3 separate regions of the Homo sapiens genome follow, and all the other regions are linked to region 1. Evidence: promoter capture Hi-C in 16 types of primary human blood cells and fetal thymus (Javierre and others, 2016). All regions are on one chromosome and are shown on one strand. The core of a region is centred on a gene start or on the middle of the fragment in contact, and the rest is flanking DNA. Distances in the headings are between cores, read along the strand shown.

The links. Contacts are between HindIII fragments. The CHiCAGO score rates a contact against its expected background, and 5 or more counts as called.
Region 2: a contact is called between a fragment that was not itself captured here and the fragment with the promoter of TMEM51-AS2 in region 1, in 5 of 17 cell types (monocytes, M1 macrophages, M0 macrophages and 2 more). The highest score is 11.8, in monocytes.
Region 3: a fragment that was not itself captured here is called in contact with the fragment with the promoter of TMEM51-AS2 in region 1 in 6 of 17 cell types (M0 macrophages, M1 macrophages, monocytes and 3 more); the score reaches 13.2 in M0 macrophages.

What each region holds. Positions count from the first base shown.
Region 1 is chr1:15,170,163-15,173,375 of GRCh38, reverse strand. It overlaps TMEM51-AS2 (TMEM51 antisense RNA 2), which reads left to right and starts at 1,752. Exons shown (of 3, transcript NR_167931.1): 1 at 1,752-1,765; 2 at 2,061-2,195. All of the region lies in intron 1 of TMEM51 (transmembrane protein 51), which reads right to left. RefSeq lists an enhancer at 1,063-1,232. The HindIII fragment of the contact is 7,186 bases long and covers 1-3,213 here.
Region 2 is chr1:15,290,676-15,293,888 of GRCh38, reverse strand. All of the region lies in intron 4 of FHAD1 (forkhead associated phosphopeptide binding domain 1), which reads right to left. LOC124903853 (a long non-coding RNA gene) reads left to right here and starts at 1,956. Exons shown (of 2, transcript XR_007065482.1): 1 at 1,956-2,238. The HindIII fragment of the contact is 1,302 bases long and covers 859-2,160 here.
Region 3 is chr1:15,260,881-15,264,093 of GRCh38, reverse strand. The region is part of intron 2 of FHAD1 (forkhead associated phosphopeptide binding domain 1); the gene reads right to left. Among named protein-coding and RNA genes, the nearest start is that of FHAD1, 15 kb to the right of the region's middle. RefSeq lists an enhancer at 2,473-2,532 and a silencer at 2,307-2,601. The HindIII fragment of the contact is 2,052 bases long and covers 702-2,753 here.

The DNA.
Region 1 (3,213 bases), core at 503-3,002:
TGGTAGTGTGCGCTTGTAATCCCAGCTACTCGGAAGGCTGAGGCGGGAGAATCGCTTGAACCTGGGAGGCAGAGGTTGTAGTGAGCCGAGATTGCGCCACTGCACTCTAGCCTAGGCAAAAGAGCGAAACTCCGTTTCAAAAAAAAAAAAAAAAAAAAAAAGAATATGATCAGGTTAAACCCCAGATTCCTAAGCAGAAAGAGGAGATGCTGGGCCCATCTGACCTACTCCCTAGGCATGTCCAGGCACAACTATTAACTGGATTAAGCACAATAATATTTCACCTGCCAGAAGTTTATTACACATGGCCTCATTCGGTTCCCACAACCCTCCATGAAAAAGGTAGGCATTGAGCCCATTTAACAGCTGAGTACATATCCTCGGGGGATACGTTCCAAGACCCCCAGTGGATGCCTGAAACAACAGACAGCACCCGACCTTACACATAACGACGACGTTTTCTGATCTGATAACCCAGACCGCTCCTAAGTGACCAATGAGCAGGTAGTGTCGACAGCACCCATCTGCTGGACAAAGAGACGATTCACGTCTGGAGCAGGACAGAGTGGGACAGTGTGAGATTTCATCACACTACTCAGAATGGGATGCAATTTAAAACTTATGAATCATATCTTTCCGGAATTTTCCATTTAATATTTTCAGATTGTAGTTGGCTATGGGTAACTGAAACAGTGGAGAGTGAAATGATAGAAAAGGAGGAACTCTTGTAGACAATATAGGATCATAAAGGGTTAAGTCACTTGCTCAGGATCACAAAGCTGGCACGTGGTGGAACCAGAATTCTAACCCGTGGCTGTCTAGCCCCAGAGTTCACTTACTTTCTCTTTTCCTTTTTCTTCTGTCTCTGTCTCTCTCTCTCTCCTTCTTCTCTTTCTTTTTTCTTCTTTCTCTCTCTCCTTCCTTCCTTTCCATTCTTTTCTTTCCTCCCTCCCTCCTCCTTCCTTCCTTTTTTTTTTTTTTTTTTTTTGAGACAGGGTCTCACTCACTCTGTTGCCCAGGCTGGGGTGCAGTGGCACAATCTTGGCTCACTGCAGCCTTGACCTCCCAGGGTCAGGTGACCCTACCACCTCAGCCTTCCAAGTAGCTGGGACTACAGGCACGTGTCACCATGCTCCACTAATTTTGGTATTTTTTCTTTTTTGCAGAAATGGAGTTTTGCCATGTTGCCCAGGCTGGTCTTGCACTCCTGGGCTCAAGCGATCCACCTGCCTCAGCCTCCCAAAGTGCTGGGATTACAGGTGTGAGCCACTGTGCCTGGACAGAGTCCACTTTCTTTTCCATACTTCAGAAGTTTCAAACGTGGCTGGGTATGTTAATCAGCTAGAGAGCTTGTTTGAAAATCTGATTCCTGAGTCCCACTGCTGAAGTCTGACTCGGCAGGCCTGGGCTGGGGCCTGGAAATCTGCTTTTATTAAGTTCTCAGCTGATGATCTGAGCAAGGGGTTGTTGGGATGGACCACATCTGTTTCTGCTAGAAGGTCCTGTCAAGAGAGTCAGGGAACGCCCAGCAGAGCCCCAGAAACCACCTGTGGGTTCAAGGAGGAGGTTCCGCGGCAAGGACTGATTGATCAGCTGTGGTAGTTCCTGCTGTGCGGGCTTGGTTAAGCTGGAACTACTTTTCCCAGAATCCCCTTCTCTGACTGGTTCTGGGTTATAATTGGTCAAAAGAGGAATCTGTGGAAAGCTGGGAGATGGAAGTGAAGCAGCGACCATTACACTTTAGAGGTCATCATGATTGGATGAGGTGAGAGACAGCCCCGTGGGTTCCAGCACATTCGAGCCTGTCCTCCATTCTGCATCCAGCTCTTTCTCCTGACTGCTGGTCCTGTTAACCAACAGCAGCCCAGGCCCCCCCGCGGACACTTGGCTGGGGATGGACCAGACAACGGCTGGCTGTAGACTTCTCCACCAGTTTGCCCGTGTACCCAGGGCCAGGTGGCGATGCCCCTGGTCCCCGGCAACTCTTCCACCTTCCTTTCTGCCGCCCCCCCTATGAATGCATAAGAACTAATTCCTATAACAAACCCCTTATCTCATAGGTCATAGAAGTTTGGCTTCTCTCATTGACCTGGAAGGATGCCGTCATCCACTCTGACCTGCAAACCTTTTGATCTCAAACAGCGATCTTCCAGGCGTGGCCCCAAATCAACAGCATCAGCGTCACCCAGGAGCTGGTTAGAAATGCAAATCCTGGGGCCCCACTCAGACCTACTGAATCAGCAACTGGGGGTGGGGGATGTGGCGGGGGGTGGAGGAGGAGGGAGGACCCAGCAATCTATGTTTTAACAAGCCCCCCACCCCAGAGGATTCTAACACAAGCTGAAGATGGAGAACCACTCATGCAAGCATTTAGAAAACCTGCCTCTAGGGAGGCCGAGGCGGGCGGATCATGAGGTCAGGAGATCGAGACCATCCTGATTAACACGGTTAAACCCCGTCTCTACTAAAAATACAAAAAATTAGCCAGGCGTGGTGGAGGGCGCCTGTAGTCCCAGCTGCTTGGGAGGCTGAGGCAGGAGAATGGCATGAACCCGGGAGGCGGAGCTTGCAGTGAGCTGAGATCGCAACACTGCACTCCAGCCTGGGCGACAGAGGGAGACTCCGTCTCAAAAAAAGAAAACCTGCCTCCATTTCTGTTTGGGATGATGTAGTAGTTCTGGAAAAAAGACAGTGGCGATGGTCACACAGCACTGTAAATGTGCTTAATGTCCCAGAATTGTACACTTAAAAATGGTTAAAATAGGCCAGGTGTGGTGGTGACTCACGCCTATAATCCCAGCACTTTGGGAGCCTGAGGTGGGCAGATCACTTGAGCCTGGGAGTTTGATACCAGTCTGGGCAACATGGCAAAACCCCGTTTCTACCAAAAAATACAAAAATTAGCCGGGCGTGGTGGTGCGCACCTGTAATCCCAGCTACTCAGGAGGCTGAGGCAGGAGAATCGCTTGAAACTGGAAGGCGGAGGTTGCAGTGACTCCATCTCAAAAAAAAAAAAAGATAAAAAAAAACCCAGCAGTATCCCAGGCACCTAGCTTTACCTTGCCCTGCAGCAGAGGGCCGGGGGAGAGGAGGGAAAGGAGGAAGTTGGCTTGCTCATGGGTCTGTACTCCCAGGCATTCTGAGATAAAGCCCCACGACTCTCAGGTGTGTTTGGCTTGGATTTGGAATGGACTTACTAGAATGGAAAGATTT
Region 2 (3,213 bases), core at 260-2,759, 120 kb before region 1:
AGAAACAGGTGGAGAAATCTACTCATCAAAGACTGAGTGAAAAAAGAAAGAAACAGCATCTGTGTCTACCAATGGACGAATGGATAAAGAAATCTGTGATACATCCATGGAATGTGACTCAATGATAACAAGGAACAACTTGTTTTTGTTTTTTTGTTTGTTGGTTTTTTGAGGTAGAATCTTGCTCTGTCCGCCCAGGCTGGAGTGCAGTGGCACAATCTCAGCTCACTGCAACCTCTGCCTCCCGGGTTCAAGCGATTCTCCTGCCTCAGCCTCCTGAGTAGCTGGGATTACAGGTGCGTGCCACCACACCCAGCTAATTTTTGTATTTTTAGTAGAGATGGGGTTTCACCATGTTAGTCAGGCTGGTCTCAGACTCCCGACCTTGTGATTCGCCCTCCTTGGCCTCCCAAAGTGCTGAGATTACAGGCATGAGCCACCGCGCCTGGCCACAAGGAACAACTTGTAAGACATACAGCAAAATGGATGAATCTCAGAAATATGCAGAGTGAAAAAAGCCTCACATGAAAAACATACACTACATGATTCCATGTATTTGAGAATCTAGAACAGGAGTCTCTAATCCATGGTGGAAAAAGAATTTGGAAGAGTGGTTACCTCTGGGGGCAAGGGTTGGGAACTGACTTGGAAGGGACCTGAGGGAGCTTCCTGGGATGATGGTGATGTTCTTGACAGGGGTTTGGGTTACACAAGTGTATACAATTGTCAAAACGTAGTGAGTGTTCACTCAAGATCTGTGCATTTCATTGAGTGGCAGCCAGTCTCCAAGATGACCCTGGTGATTCTTGTCCCTGTATTCATGCCCCTATATAGTCATCTCCCATGCTGGATGAAGCTTGTATTAATATGCTCAGGTTGCCATAACAAAATACCACAGACTAGGGGGCTCAATAACAGAAATTAATTTTACTTTATTAAATGTTTAATTCTTTCTTTTAAAAATAGAGATGGGGTCTTGCTGTGTTTCCCCAGCTGGTCTTGAACTCCTATCTTCAAGGGATCCTCCTGCCTCAGCCTCCCAAACTGCTGGGATTACAGGGGTGAGCCACTGCACCAATTTATTTTTTCAAGTTTTAGAGGTTGAAAGATCAAGGTGTTGGCCGGGTGGCTTCTCCTGAGGCCTCTCTTCTTGGCTTGCAGACGGCCACCTTCTCACTGTGTCCTCACATGGTCTTTCCTCTGGTGTTGCTTGTGTCCTAATCACCTCCTCTCACAAGGACAACAGTCAGATTGGATTAGGGCCCAACCTAACTACCTCATTTTAACTTAATTACCTCTTTAAAGGCGGGTGGATCACCTGAGGTCAGGAGGTTGAGACCAGCCTGGCTAACATGGTGAAAACTCGTCTCTACTAAAAACACAAAAAATTAGCTGGGCGTGGTGGCGGGCGCCTGTAGTCCCAGCTACTCGGGAGGCTGAGGCAGGAGAATGGTGTGAACCTGGGAGGTGGAGCTTGCTGTAAGCCGAGATCGTGCCACTGCACTCCAGCCTGGGCGACAGAGCGAGACTCCGTCTCAAAAAGACAAAACAAAACAAAAAAAACCCCACAAAAATTAGCCAGGCCTGGTGGTGGGTGCCTGTAATCCCAGCTACTCAGGAGGCTGAGGCAGGAGAATCACTTGAACCTGGGAGGCAGAGGTTTTAATGAGTCGAGATCATGCCACTGCACTCCAGCCTGGGAGACAGAGTGAGACTCAGTTTCTAAAAGAAAGAAAAAAAGAAAAGAAAAGAAGGAAGGAAGAAAGAAAGGCACTCTCTCAATACAGTTAGGTTCTGTGGTACTGGGGATTAGGACTTCAACATATAAATTTTGAGAGAACACAATTCAGCCATAACAGAGCTTATCTATGTAACCAAGGCTACTGGAGAAATGATGGAGTTTGACTCCTGAGGCTGGATCTTAAGAGACATGTGGCTGCTGCTTTTCTCTCTAGGACCACTCTTTTGGAGGAAGCTGGCAGCCATTTCATGAGGAGACTCAAGCAGCCTAGGAGAGGTGGCAGTGGTGAAGAACTGAGGCTTCCTGCTGTCAGCTAGTGAGGAACTGAGGCCTCTTCACACACGGATGTGAGTGAACTACCCAGGAGATGTGTCCTCCAGCCCCAGGCCTTCAGAGGACCGCAGCTCTCGTCAAAAGCTTAATGCAACCTCCTGAGAGTCCCTGAACTACAGCCATCCTGCTAAGCTACTCCCAAATGCCTGACCCCCAGAAACTGTGTAAGATAACGCATAGGGTTTTGGTTTGTTTTAGGGTGCTATATGTTAGGGTAATTGGTTATAAATTGGTAACTAATACACACCGTATGTTAATTTTACACAAAAAGACAAAAACTGTTGAACTCCAGTTAATGGTATACGTGCTAAATGTTTAGGGGGAAGTCTACAGCTGTAGGAAACTTATTTTAAAATGTATCTAAAATTAAGATGAATTAATGAATTCACAAAATGATTGATAGAGAGATATACAATAAGAGTATAGCAAAATGGGCCAGGCGTGGTTGGCTCACACCTGTAATCCCAGCACTTTGGAGGCCAAGGTGGGCAGATCACTTGAGGTCAGGAGTTTGAGACCAGCCTGGCCAACATGGCAAAACCTCGTCTCTACTGAAAATACAAAAATTAGCTGAACATGGTGGTGTGTGCCTGTAATCCCAGCTACTTGGGAGGCTGAGGCAGGAGAACCGCTTGAACCCAGAAGGTGAACTCCAGCTTGGGCAATAGAGTGAGACTCTGTCTCAAGAAAAAAAAAAAAAAAAAAGAGTATAGTAAAATGTTAATGGTAGATTTAGGTGGGGAGGGGGTCACTGTAAAATTATTTTTACTTTGCTGTATGTTTAAAAAATGTTCATATTAAGGCTGGGCGCAGTGGCTCATGTCTGTAATCCCAGCACTTTGGGAGGCCGAGGTGGGCGGATCACAAGGTCAGGAGATCAAGACCATCCTGGCTAACATGGTGAAACCCCATCTCTACTAAAAATACAAAAACAAAAAATTAGCCGGGTATAGTGGCAGGAGCCTGTAGTCCCAGCTACTCGGGAGGCTGAGGCAGGAGAATGGCGTGAACCCAGAAGGCGGAGCTTGCAGTGCGCTGAGATGGCACCACTGCCGAAATCCTGCCACTGCACTCCAGCCTGGGCAACAGAGGGAGACTCCGTCCAAAAAAAAAAAAAAAAGTTCATATTAAAATGTTGG
Region 3 (3,213 bases), core at 478-2,977, 91 kb before region 1:
CTTGAAAAAGAAGAACAGTTGGAAGTGTCATACTTCCTGGTTTCAAAAGTTATTAAAAAGATAGGGTAATCAAAACACTGTGGGCTTAGCATTTATGCCAGACACATAGACAGTGAAACAGATTAGAAAGCCCCCATATAAACCTTTGCATATATGGTCAAATGATTTTCGACAAGGGTGTCAATACCATTCAATGGTGGAAAGGACAGTCTTTTCAACAAATGATGCTGGGAAAACTGGATATCCACATGTATTAGTAAAAGAATGAAACTAGGCTGGGCACAGTGGCTCACGCCTGTAATCCCAGCACTTTGGGAGGCTGAGGCGGGCAGATCACGAGGTCAGGAGATCAAGACCATCTGGGCTAACACAATGAAACCCCGCCTCTACTAAAAATACAAAAAATTAGTTGGGCGTGGTGGCAGGTGCCTGTAGTCCCAGCTACTTGGGAGGCTGAGGCAGGAGAATGGCATGAACCCGTGAGGCGGAGCTTGCAGTGAGCCGAGATTGCGCCACTGCACTCCAGCCTGGGCGACAGAGCGAGACGCTGTCTCAGACAAAAAAAAAAAAAAAAAAAAAAAAAGAATAAAACTGGACCCTTAACTTACACCATAAACAAAAATTAGTTCAAAATGGATCAAAGACCTAAACATAAGAGCTAACACTATAAAACCCTTAAAAGAAAACATAGAAGAAAAGCTTCCGGACAATAGATTTGACAGTTATTTCTTGGCAATGACACCAAGAACACAGGCAACAAAAGTAAAAATAGATAAACTGGAATACATTAACATTAAAACTTCTATATATCAAAGGATACACTCAACACAGTGAAAAGGCAACCTACGGAATGGAAGAAAATATTTACAAATCACATATCTGAAAAAGGGTTAATCTCCATGATATATAAAGAACCCCACAACTCAACAGTAACAAAACAAAAATAACCCTATTAAAAAATGTGCAAAGGATTTGAATGGACTTTCTCCAAAGAAGATACACAAATGGCCAACAAGTATATGAGAAGAATGCTCAAGATCACAAATCATTAAGAAATTCAAATCAAAACCACAAGGAGATACCACTTTGCACCCTTTAGGATGGCTACTATAAAAACACAGAAAATAAGTGTTGGCGAGGACGTGGAGATGTTAAACCCTCGTGCACTGTGGCTGGGAATGTAAAATAGTGCAGCCACTGTGGAAACAATATTGTGGTTCCTCAAAAATGTAATAATAGAATTACCATATGATCCGGCAATGCCACTTCTGGGTATATATTCAAAAGAATTGAAAGCAGGGTCTCAAAGAGACATTTGTACAGTCGTGTTCCTAGCAGCATTATTCACATTATTCACAGTAGCCAAATGGTGAAAGCAACCCAGGTGTCCATGGACAGACAAAAGATAAACAAAACGTGGTCCATCCAAACAATGGATGTTATTTAGCTTTTAAAAGAAAGGAAATTCTGCCACAACGTGGATGAACCTTGAGAACATATGCTGGTGAAATAAAGCAGTCACAAAATACATGTTGTGGCTCACACCTGTAATCCCAGCACTTTGTGAGGCTGAGGTAGGAGGATTACTTGAGCCCAGGCGTTAGAGGCCAGCCTGGAAACATAGTGAGACCTCGTTTCTAGCTCTCCTACTTCCTAGTGGGGTGACCCTGGGCAAGTGATCTATTCCCTTGGGACCTCAGTTTCCTCATCTGTAAACAGAGATAATAGCAGAATGGCCCTTATGGGTTTGTGGTGAAGAATAAATGAAACAGTATATATAAAAAGCACTTAGAAGAGTATTTTAGCCCAATAGCAGGTGTTAAAATGTTCACTATTATGCGCAGAAGGATGGGCTCTGCACTTAGAAAGCTCTGAGTTCAAGTCCCACCTCTGCTGCATTCCTGCTGTGCAGCCTGGGACAAGTTTCTTTGCCTCTCTGAGGCTGCTTCCTATGCTGCAAAAATGAGTGTGATAAGCTCTACCTCAAAGGACTGACAAAAGATACTATTTGGCAAAATTTTCAGTGTGGTGGGATAACATTTTTGAAATTAACTGGTGTGTGTGTGTGTGTGCGTGTGTGCTAAAAACACAGGGGCTTGCTATGTTGCCCAGGCTGGAGTGCAGTAGCTATTTCCAGGCACCATCAAAGCATAATACAGCCTTGAACCCCTGGGCTCGAGTGATCTTCCTGCCTCAGCCACCCAAGTGCCTGGGACGACAGGCACCTGTGTGTATCAAATCATATTTCTTTTTACCTTTTGGTCCTTGGCCATCCTGCGCCCCCACTGTGACCCCTGTCACTGCCTCAGGAAAGGGATGTAATGCAGAAACAGAACAAGCTGGGGTTTTCAAAGGAATAGGGATATGAGGAAATGGCCAGGGCTCTGGTAAGACTGTGAGTCTGGGAGCAGAGGGAAAGAGGAAGTTTGTCGGCTTCCCTCCTGTCAATCAGAGCCTTGCTCAGCTTCTCTGGGAGAGTCTTGAGAAGCAGGCAAGTCCCCGAGAAGACGCTGTTTCAGGCGGTATCTCTGAGAGCTCCCCAGAATCAGTGCTACTCTGAGAGAGGGAGGGGAGAGTTCCGAGAGTCCTGTGTAATGGAGTCTGTGACAGTTCCCCTCGGTGCACTGACGGCTCGAAAGAACCTTGAGCTGAGACAGCAATGCGTGCCCACTTGCTAGGCACTCATGATAGAGCAGCGATTAGTCATCCTCGTGTCCACACCCCCGTTCCGGAAGTCCTCTTTTCCTGAAGCTTCTTGTCCCTGCACGGTCCCAGACAGCCTGACTATGAATCCCACCCTCTGTGCCCGTCATACGTGACCTTGGGCAGGCTCCTTAGTCTGTCTGTGCCACAACTTCCTCATCTGTAAAATGGGGGAAGGGAGATCCCTAACTTGTAGGGTTGCTGAAAGGATTAACCGAGTTAATACACACAAAAGTGCAAACAACAGTGCCTGGCACAAAGTAAACCCACAATAACACAAATGATAGCATCATCCTCTTGGCTCATCCACCATCTTTCTCCACTGTCCCTGGCAGTGACCCTACTGATTCCTCTGAAAAGCTCTCAACATCCCATATTATCGCTTCCCTCTCTATGGCCAGAGTCCAAGCAAGAGATGGTAATAACTGTGATTGGCAGAATGGTCCCACAAAGGTGTCCGTGTCCTAATCCCTGGAACCCGTGAGTGTGCTGCTGCCTTACATGGCAAAG